Regions from separate parts of the Homo sapiens genome. Here region 2 is linked to region 1. The links are contacts of gene promoters, found by promoter capture Hi-C in blood cells and fetal thymus (Javierre and others, 2016). All regions are on one chromosome and are shown on one strand. Each heading gives the region's core, a stretch centred on a gene start or on the middle of the fragment in contact. The rest is flanking DNA. Distances are from core to core; before and after follow the strand shown.

Evidence for each region. Contacts are between HindIII fragments. The CHiCAGO score rates a contact against its expected background, and 5 or more counts as called.
Region 2: a fragment that was not itself captured here is called in contact with the fragment with the promoter of CYP26B1 in region 1 in 1 of 17 cell types (erythroblasts); the score reaches 8.5 in erythroblasts.

What each region holds. Positions count from the first base shown.
Region 1 is chr2:72,145,468-72,150,119 of GRCh38, reverse strand. It overlaps CYP26B1 (cytochrome P450 family 26 subfamily B member 1), which reads left to right and starts at 2,258. Exons shown (of 6, transcript NM_019885.4): 1 at 2,258-2,489. The coding sequence starts at 2,286. RefSeq lists enhancers at 2,369-2,870, 3,060-3,582. The HindIII fragment of the contact is 2,315 bases long and covers 1,225-3,539 here.
Region 2 is chr2:72,593,880-72,598,353 of GRCh38, reverse strand. The region is part of intron 6 of EXOC6B (exocyst complex component 6B); the gene reads left to right. Among named protein-coding and RNA genes, the nearest start is that of EXOC6B, 230 kb to the left of the region's middle. The HindIII fragment of the contact is 535 bases long and covers 1,659-2,193 here.

The DNA of each region.
Region 1 (4,652 bases), core at 1,009-3,508:
CAGATGACAGATGCACGGATGCGCAGACACACTCATGGCTCTACAAAGAATACACAAACCCACAGACATACCACGTCGCTCCTCAGACGTCGGGCCGACGCAAGGCCACGCGCGCGAACACACAGGTGCGGCCCCGGGCCACACGCACACCGTACACAGGCACGCGCGCCGGGCCCTCTGCTGCCAGCGCTGAGAAGGTGGCCGTGCTCACCCAGCATGTTTATTTACTCATTTGTATCAATGAACGTTTGTGCCCGTCTTCTCCCGCCTCTGGGTACCGGGGCCGCCGCGTTTGTCCCCGCGCAGGACACTTGCCGGACCAGTATCGGGGTTCCCCGACGCTGCGGGCGGTGGAGGGGGACTACAAAAGCAGGGGAGGGGGGTCCCAATGTGCAGGAAAGGAGGGGCTGCAGAGTCAGCAGCCTGGGACGCTGACGGGGACAGGAGAACCTCCAGGTTCCGTAGGGTAAGAGACATATGGCGGGGGCGGACCTTAGCATCGGAGGTGTGAGGATATAGGGATCGGGAATGGGGGATCTGGCTTAGGGGGATTGGGACTGGTAACTCAGGGGTCCCTGGAGATAAGAGCCAGCGGGATCCCGGGGGTTGGAAGCTCGGGACCCTAAGGCACAGTTTCGAGGGCTTTGGGCGCCTGCCAGTCGAGGGGGCAGTCCGGCCAGGACCTCCGCTGCCGGGGCTTCGGCCCAGGAGGGACTGCTCGGAGCTGGAGGAGGGGACCGCTGACCTGGGAAGGAGGAAAAGAGGAAGGGAAGGAGCCTAGAAGCCAAGCAGGCACTAAGCGAGTGCGCACCGTGTGTGCGGAGGTGTGTGTGTTGTGTGTGTGCGCGTGTGTGTTGTGTGTGTGTGCGCGTAGGTGCGCGCGCGTGTGTCTCATCTCGTCCGTCTGTAGGCGCTGGGCTCAGCGAGACGCCGGCGAGAAAGAAGAGGAGGCGAGAGGTGAACTGAGTTTGATCCTGCGGCGGCTACAAGTGGGTCCCGGGCGGGCTGCGGGCGGCGGGCGGCGGGCGGCCGGGGCGGGGCGGGAGGCCGGGCTGCGCTCTCCAGCTCCGGCCGCGGGCCCGGCCTCTCACCACGCCTCCGGCTTTGTGAGCGCGCGGGTTGGGGCGGGGGGGTGCTGGCGGGGCGCCCACGGCGCAGCCTCCCGCCTCTATATAAACACACGCATCGCCTCGCTTTGGACTCAAATTCACATTGAGAGAAGCTTTTAAAACCACCAGCCCTGAAATCCTGCCTCCTGCTTTTCCCCCTCTTTCATTCCTTTTGCCTTCCTTTCTTTTTTCCCCATTTCTTCCCCCAGCAGCAACTCCAGAGCCGAGAGACCGCGTCCCGGGACGGACTGCCTTTTCTTAATTGATACAATAGCCCAGCTCGGGTTTTCCACCTCCTCCCCCAACCCCACCCCGCCTCACCCCTCCCGCCCGCTGCCGCCGCCGCCGCCGCCGCCGCCGCCGCCGCCGCCCCATCGCCCGCCCGGGGCTCTGTCGCCGGCTGCGTCCCGTCCCGGCCGCGGCCCGCCGGCTCCGCACCCGCGCTCGGGCCGCAGCGCCCGCCTCGCCGCCTCGCCCGCCGCTCCTGCCTCGGGGGTGCTGCGGCGGCTCTGGGGCTCGAGCGCGCCGCCCCGGGCAGCCCAGGGACTTTTAGGCTCCGGCCTCTCCACTCGCCTCAGCCAGGGAGCTTTCTCCCTCGCCCCCAAAGTTTCTGGGTTCGTTGGAATTTTTGGATTCAGGAATTTTTTCTTTTTTTCTTTTTTTCACCTAGGAATTTTGGGGCCATACTGCAATACTTTTGACAAATCGACCGCACTTTCTCTCTGCTAGCTCTCTGCCCCCTTCTTTTTTTCCGAGCAGGGGAAGGGGCTTACGAGAGAGAGGCTCCCTCTGGACAAAGTTTTCCAAAGTTTTCCGAGTGTGATGGTAGCGGGGAGAGCAAACCCACCAGCTTGACTCACGGCTTCATCTCACCACCCCTTGAGCAGCCCCTAAGCCCGCTATAAAGGAACAAACAAACAAACAAACAAACAAAGTTGCACCCCAGTCGCCTCGTGTTTCCTCTCTTCTTTTAGGCAATTTTTTTCCTCCCTCTCTCCGCTCCCCTCGCAGCCTCCACTCCCTTTCCCTTGGCCCCTTCCTCCTTCTCTGTTTCGGCTGGAGGTGCCAGGACCCCCGGCCGCAGCCTCCCCTCCCCCGCCGCTCCGGTCCCCTCCCGTCGGGCCCTCCCCTCCCCCGCCGCGGCCGGCACAGCCAATCCCCCGAGCGGCCGCCAACATGCTCTTTGAGGGCTTGGATCTGGTGTCGGCGCTGGCCACCCTCGCCGCGTGCCTGGTGTCCGTGACGCTGCTGCTGGCCGTGTCGCAGCAGCTGTGGCAGCTGCGCTGGGCCGCCACTCGCGACAAGAGCTGCAAGCTGCCCATCCCCAAGGGATCCATGGGCTTCCCGCTCATCGGAGAGACCGGCCACTGGCTGCTGCAGGTAAGGGCGCGCTCGCTCCGCTGCACTCCGGGGTCCGCTAGCTGCGAGCGCGGGGCAGACGGAGCGGCGGGCCGGCCAGGGGGCGCCGGGAGCCTGAAGGCACTGGTCCCCGCCCCGCCCCTTCCCTCCTCTCTGCCGCAGCAGCCCGGGCTTCCCCAGCCCGCCGGCAGCGCGGTTCCGGGACCACTGGCGCCCGCGGCGCAGGTTCAGGGGGCTGGTAAGAGGGGTTCCCGGACCTGAGGGGGCTCCCAAGATGGACTTGCCTGGGTCGCGGCTGGCCTGGCAGGGGGCGTGGAGCGCCCCGGGGGCGCCTAGCGAGGCGCGGTCCCGGGGGAGGGTCCGGTCCTGAGCCGCTTTCGCCTCCCCTCGGTGCTGCAAGCCCCCAGTCGCCCTCGGCTTTCTGGGGTTGGCTGTGTCGCTGGGAGCCGAAAATTGAGTCGGGAGAGGAGGGGGCTGGTGGCAGCTTGAATTGCCGATTTAAAACTGTGTTCCTGCGGCGCCGTCGGCAGCGCCAGGTACAGTGTCCCTGGTCCGCGGTCCGCGCGAGTGTGTCTGTTTTGTGGTGGAAGAGGAAGAAGGTAACCCAAGGAAAAATGAGAATCCAGGGCTCTAGGCTTTCGGGGAAAAGGGTCTATTTACTTATTGGGTGGGGACAGTTTGGCAGGAGAGGGAAACTTGGGAGAGGTGAGTGTGGGATCCATAGAGAGAGAGTGCGTGTGTGCTTGTTAGATGCCGCACAACCCCACTCTGCTGGTGATAACGGGGGTGAGGCGCGTCAGGGACCAGACCCAGGTAGGTAATGGGGAGATTAACCTGGAGTTCACCTCATCAAGTGCCAGACAATCGCTTTTGCAATGTGATACACACCGGTTTTCTTCTTGGGGTGGGGGAGCGGAGCGCCTCTGCAGTAACTGCGGGAGGTGTATTTGTGTGTACGCGCGTTTGTTCTGTTAGGGGAAGCAGGGATGTCCTGAAACTGACAATCCCCGCACTAGAGAGGTGAAGCGAAAGGTGAGCGCTGCGACCTGTGGGTTTACAGGTGCGAAAGCTTGGCTTGAAATTAACAGACGCGTGCAATCCGCGCGCTCGCGCACACACGCACTCACCCTGCCCCGGGACGAGTGACAGCGGAGCGGGGGCGGGGAGGGGGTTCGAAGTTCCTCTGCCCTGTGGTCTTTCCACGTCCCGGATTAGGCCCATCTCTTTTTGGGGTTGTTCGTGCAATGAGGTGGGGGTCCTTTCAACCAATGGATGTATCACCCCCCCACCCCCCGCAAAGAAATCCCCAGAGCCTTTCCCTCGCCACCACACTTAAAGTGTCAACTGCAGCGGTGCTCTAGGCTTTGGGCCGCGAATTTAGGAAATAAAATAACTTGGGCAACGGCTCCCGCCTTTTAGAGCCAGTCTGCTGAATCCACGGTCTGTCACCACCCACCCCCACTTCGTTTCCTGACCTCTCTGCCCCCCCTCAGGTCCCCATGACCTTTTCTCCGAATCCCACAAGAGCCCCTGGGGGTCAGCGTCCAACCTGCACAGAAGTTAGGGAGGAGGAAACCTAAGCCTCCCCATCCCTCCAACCCGGGGCCCTAGATCTGGAGGTGAGGAGGGAAATAGGGGGTACGTGTACAGGAGCGCCTAAGGGGTTAATGAGAGCCCTCTGAATCCCAGCGTTATTTTTTCGGAGTCATTTATCAGATTTTACGGGGGGACCTCCAAGGGCTCTCCGTTTCCACCGAGCGCCATCTAAACAGAGCCCAGGGCTAAAAATACAACATTTTTGTATAAATTGGACTCGCGGCCCGAGCGGCCGCCCCTATGAAAGTACTCTTTGTGAAGACCGTGGAAACGGCGGACAAATAACTCTTTATTAATGCCACAAAAAACGCACTTTAATTATAGTTAGGCAGATCAGAGGCGGGGGGTGGGGGCGAGGCGGCGGCGACCTCGGAAAATTCACAACCCAACTTTTGTGTTGAAAGAAAAGAAAAACAGAGGAAAAGAAGGAGAGGAAAGACGGAGAGTGAGACGGAGCGAGGGAGACGGGTATAGCAGACGGAGGGAGGGAAACCCTCGCCTCACCACCCCTTCTGTCGCACCCCACCTCCGCCTAGATTTTTCTTAAAGGGGTAGACGCCGTCTAGAAGGGCTGCACGGCAGGGGGAA
Region 2 (4,474 bases), core at 677-3,176, 450 kb before region 1:
TTTTAAAAAGTTTCTCTTGAGACTTCTTTGGCTCATGTATTATTTAGAAGTATGTTGTTTAATCTCAAAATATTTTGGAATTTTCTGTTATTGATTTCTTGTTCCATTCTGTTGTGGTCTGAGTGGGTACTTCTTTTGATTTCTATTCTTTAAAATTTTTTGAGTGTGTTTTATGGCCATCAGTGTGCTATGCCTTGGTGAATTTTCCATGTAAGCTTGAGAGAAGTGTGTATTCTGCTGTTATTGAATGAAGTATTCTACAAATGTCAAGTAGATCCAGTTGTTCAGTTTAGCTATTACTGCTTTTCTGCCTGCTGGATCTTTCAATTATTGATAGATGTGTGTTGAATTCTCCCATTATAATAATAATAATAATTTTGTTGTTTTCTCTTGAAGTTCTGTCAGTTTTTGCCTTATGCATATTGGTGCTCTGTTGTTAGGTGCATACCCACTAAGGACTGTTGTGTCTTCTTGGAGAATTGACTCCTTTATCATTATGTAATACCTCTCTATATCCCTGATAATTTTATTTGTTCTGAAATGTGCTTTGTCTGAAAATGATATAGTGACTCCAGCTTTCTTTTTGTTACTGTTCGTGTGGTATATGTTTCCCCATCTCTTTATTTTTAATCTATCTGTGGTTTTATACTTAAAGTGGGTTTCTTATAGGCAACATATAGCTGAGTCTTTCTTTTTATCCACTCTTTCCATCTCTTTTAGTTACTATATTTGGACAATTCACATTTAAGGTGATTATTGATTTAGTTGGATTAATAGCTACTATATTTATTACTTTTATATTCTTATTATACTTGTCCTTTGTTCCTTTAAAAAAATCTTTTTTTCCTGCCTTTTATGGTTTTTAATTGAGTATTTTATAGAATTCCATTTTCCCTCTCAGCATATAATTATACTTTCTTTAAAAATTTTTACCAGTTGTTCTTGGGTTTGCAATATCCATTTATAATTAATCTAAGTCCACTTTCAAATAACAGTGTAATGCTTCATAGTAGGGCAGATACATTGTAACAGAGTATTCCCAGTTCCTCCCTCTAGTTCCTTATAACATTGCTGTCATTAATTTCCTTTATCCATAAACTATAATAACCTAATCCATTATTGGTATTATTTTTAAGAATTAAAAATTTTAAATTGAGGTAAGATTTACATAATATAAAATTAACCATTTTTAAGTGAACAATTTAGTGGCATTTAGTATATTCAGTTTTGTATATCTATCTCTATTTACTCCTAAAACATTTCCATTATCCCAGAAAGAAACCTTAAGGGTATTGGATATAGGGTTTCTTTTTGGGATAATGGAAATGTTTTAGGAGTAAATAGAGATAGCTGTACAATAATTATTCCCCATTCCACCCTCTCTGATAGACATGATGCATTAGATATTAAGATCTGAGATAAATAGGATTTTAATATGAGTATTTATGTTTATCTAGGTAGGAGTTAGTCTGTATTTAATGTTTACTGTAATTTTTGGTGTCAGAGCCTTCAATTTCCTCTTGTGTCCTTGTTTTTCTCTCCCTTGTCTTTAGCTTTCCCTAGTAGCTCCTTTTTAAACAGTGTTTTATAGCTCTTTCTGTTGTAATTCACTGTTATTAATGTGGTGGTAAGGTTTTTGGGGTTGGAGGTAGGAAGCTTTCTGTAGCCTTATGATTAAATCTCTCTCTCTTTGTTAAAAAATATTGAACCAACATTCCTGGACTGTGACCTTCAGAGTTTCTTGACCTTTCTTTTTCTTCTTTTTTCTTCCTTTATGTTTTTCTTCCTTTATGTAAGAAAGGAAGACTAGAGGGAGCATATTTCAAAATGGTTACGTTTCTCCTTTCTCTGCTGGAAGCAGGAGGGGATTTTTTTGGATGTTCTCCATGAGAACCTTGGAAAGCTCCTAAAGGTAAAACTCAGGAGCCCCCCTAAGACTGGGCCTCTTAAAGAGTTTTAACTTTTAACACTGTTCCAGTAATTATGTATCATTTAAGTTTTCCTACCTGTTACTGGGTAGGCACCAGGGGATTCTGCTCATGATAGTTGTGATTTCTCTGTATTCACCTGTCTCTCTAATTTTCTGGGAAGCATCTTGTCTTGGGACCTCAATTCTCTGATGGATCTGAGAAGAGTTTTCTAGTTTTTCATCTTTTTTCTTGTTGTGAATATGGGAGTCACAGCTTCTAAGCTTTTCACACTTTGGAGCTGAAACCAGAAGTCTGTTCCACCTTGGCTTTTTATACTATTTTTAGAACTCATTCTTCCTGGGCTGTCTCACCAGACCTCTTGTCTTTTGACATCTATTATTACTGAGGAGAAGCCAGAGGCCTTCCTTTTCTTTTTTCCACCACTTGTGGTGCGGTATGCTTCTTTTGACTTGGTGATAAGATTTTTAGACTTCAAGTTCAGGAATCTTTCTAGGCTATATTTTGGTATTGATTATTTCTTTTGGAACATGGTAGTCTTATTTGTGCAAATTGAGAACTTGAAACATTTTTTAGCCTTCAGCATTTTTATATTCTGCTTGTTCTTTTCTCTTAATCTGAAAGTAATTACAGTATGTTGGCATTCCATTGTCAGTCTTCCATATTTATCATCATTTCTCTAATTTCTTTCATATTTTTGTCTGTCTTCTTATTGTGTATCTATGTCTTTTAAAAAAATTTGTGTCACTTCTCTCCTTTATGACCCTAATTTGGTATTGCTTCTGGCTTCTAATGGGTTTTCAGTTCTGTATTGCTTTTAAGTTTTTTCTGTTTCTTCCATTAACTCTCATCACTCTTTAAAAGAATATTCTTCTGACATATTACTTTATAAAAGCATGTTGTGTCTCTTCTTTGATAACTTTTTCTGTAGTATTCATATTTTCTTAACTTCTTGATATTATAGAAAAGTTTTTGTTTTTTCTTTTACTACACAAAATTATTTTTTCAAAATTTTTTATTTTAATACAATTATTTTTATTTTTAAAATTATATTATTAGCCTATCTTTACATATCTTTCCTTTTTGTTCATTTTCTTCTCCATGCTTATTAATTGTCATATATATATATAGATATATATATCTATATATCTATATATATATATTTGAGACAGAATCTTGCTCTGTTGCCCAGGCTGGAGTGTAGTGGCACCATCTCGGCTCACTGCAATCTCTGCCTCCTGAGTTCAAGTGATTCTCCTGCCTCAGCCTCCCAAGTTGCTGGGATTACAAGCATTTGCCACCACGCCTGGCTAATTTTTGTGTATTTTTAGTAGAGATGAGGTTTCACCATGTTGGTCAGGTTGGTCTTGAACTCCTGACCTCAAGTGATCTGCCCACCTCTGCCTCCCAAAGTGCTGGGATTACAGGCATGAGCCACTGCGTCCGGCGTCACCATGCTTATTAATTGTCTTTGAATGGGAATGTTAATTTCTAGATGTGTATTTTCTAAAGACTATATTGTGCATAGATTTTCTTTGGTATCTTTTTTTCTTTAATTATATACTATTTGAATCATCCTTTTGAAAATGAGCTAGAGAGCTGGAAAACTTTGGTTTTAAATTTTTGTGTAGAAATCCATTTATTTTAACCATTTGTTACTGTTTCTAAATGCCAGGTTTTGTTGCAAATATTTAGGTACATTAGTCAACCAAACAAATGGAAATCTTTTTTCTCATAGAAAATACATTATAGTGGTCATTTAGCTTCTTGTTATGATCAGGGTAATGAATAAGTTGGCAGTAATAGGAAGACAGCAGAAACAAGTTGGGTTGTTTGTATCAAAACACTTTCTCCAAACATATATAATTGTCTTTCTTTGGAGGTACATCTTACTCAAAGTATGGAGGTGGCTGGGCAGCATCCATCATCTCCTGGGTGTTCAGGCATTTCCCTACTTAAATTTAGATAGGTCATTGTAAAGCACTGTGCTCATTTGCCTTTTTGTTTGCTAGGTTGACTCTAGTCTTTAGTATTAGGGTAGTATTGGCCTTGTAAAATGAGTTTGGATATATCCTGTTCTCCTCCATTTTCTGAAGTTGCTGTGTGGCATTGATATGTATTTCTTCCTTAAATGTTTAATACAGAGTGGTTGTGGTGGCTCATGCCTGTAATCCCAACATTTTGGGAAGCCAGGGTGGGAAGATTGCTTGAGGCTAAGAGTTTGAGAGCAGCCCGGGCAACATAGTAACACCCTGTCTCTGTAAAAAATTTAAAAAAATTAGCCAGGCGTGCGTGCATGCCCCTGTGGTCCCAACTATTTGGGAAGCTGAGTTTGGAGGATCAGTTGAGACCAGGAGGTCAAGGCTGCAATGAGCTGTGTTCATGTCACTGCACTCCAGCCTGGACAACGCAGTAAAAGCCTGTCTTAACAACAGCAACAACAACAATAACAACAACCAGAATGTTTGATAGAATTTACTAGGGAACGAACAGTCCCTGTGTTTTACTTGTTGGAAGGTTTTTATCTACATGTTCCATTTCTTTAA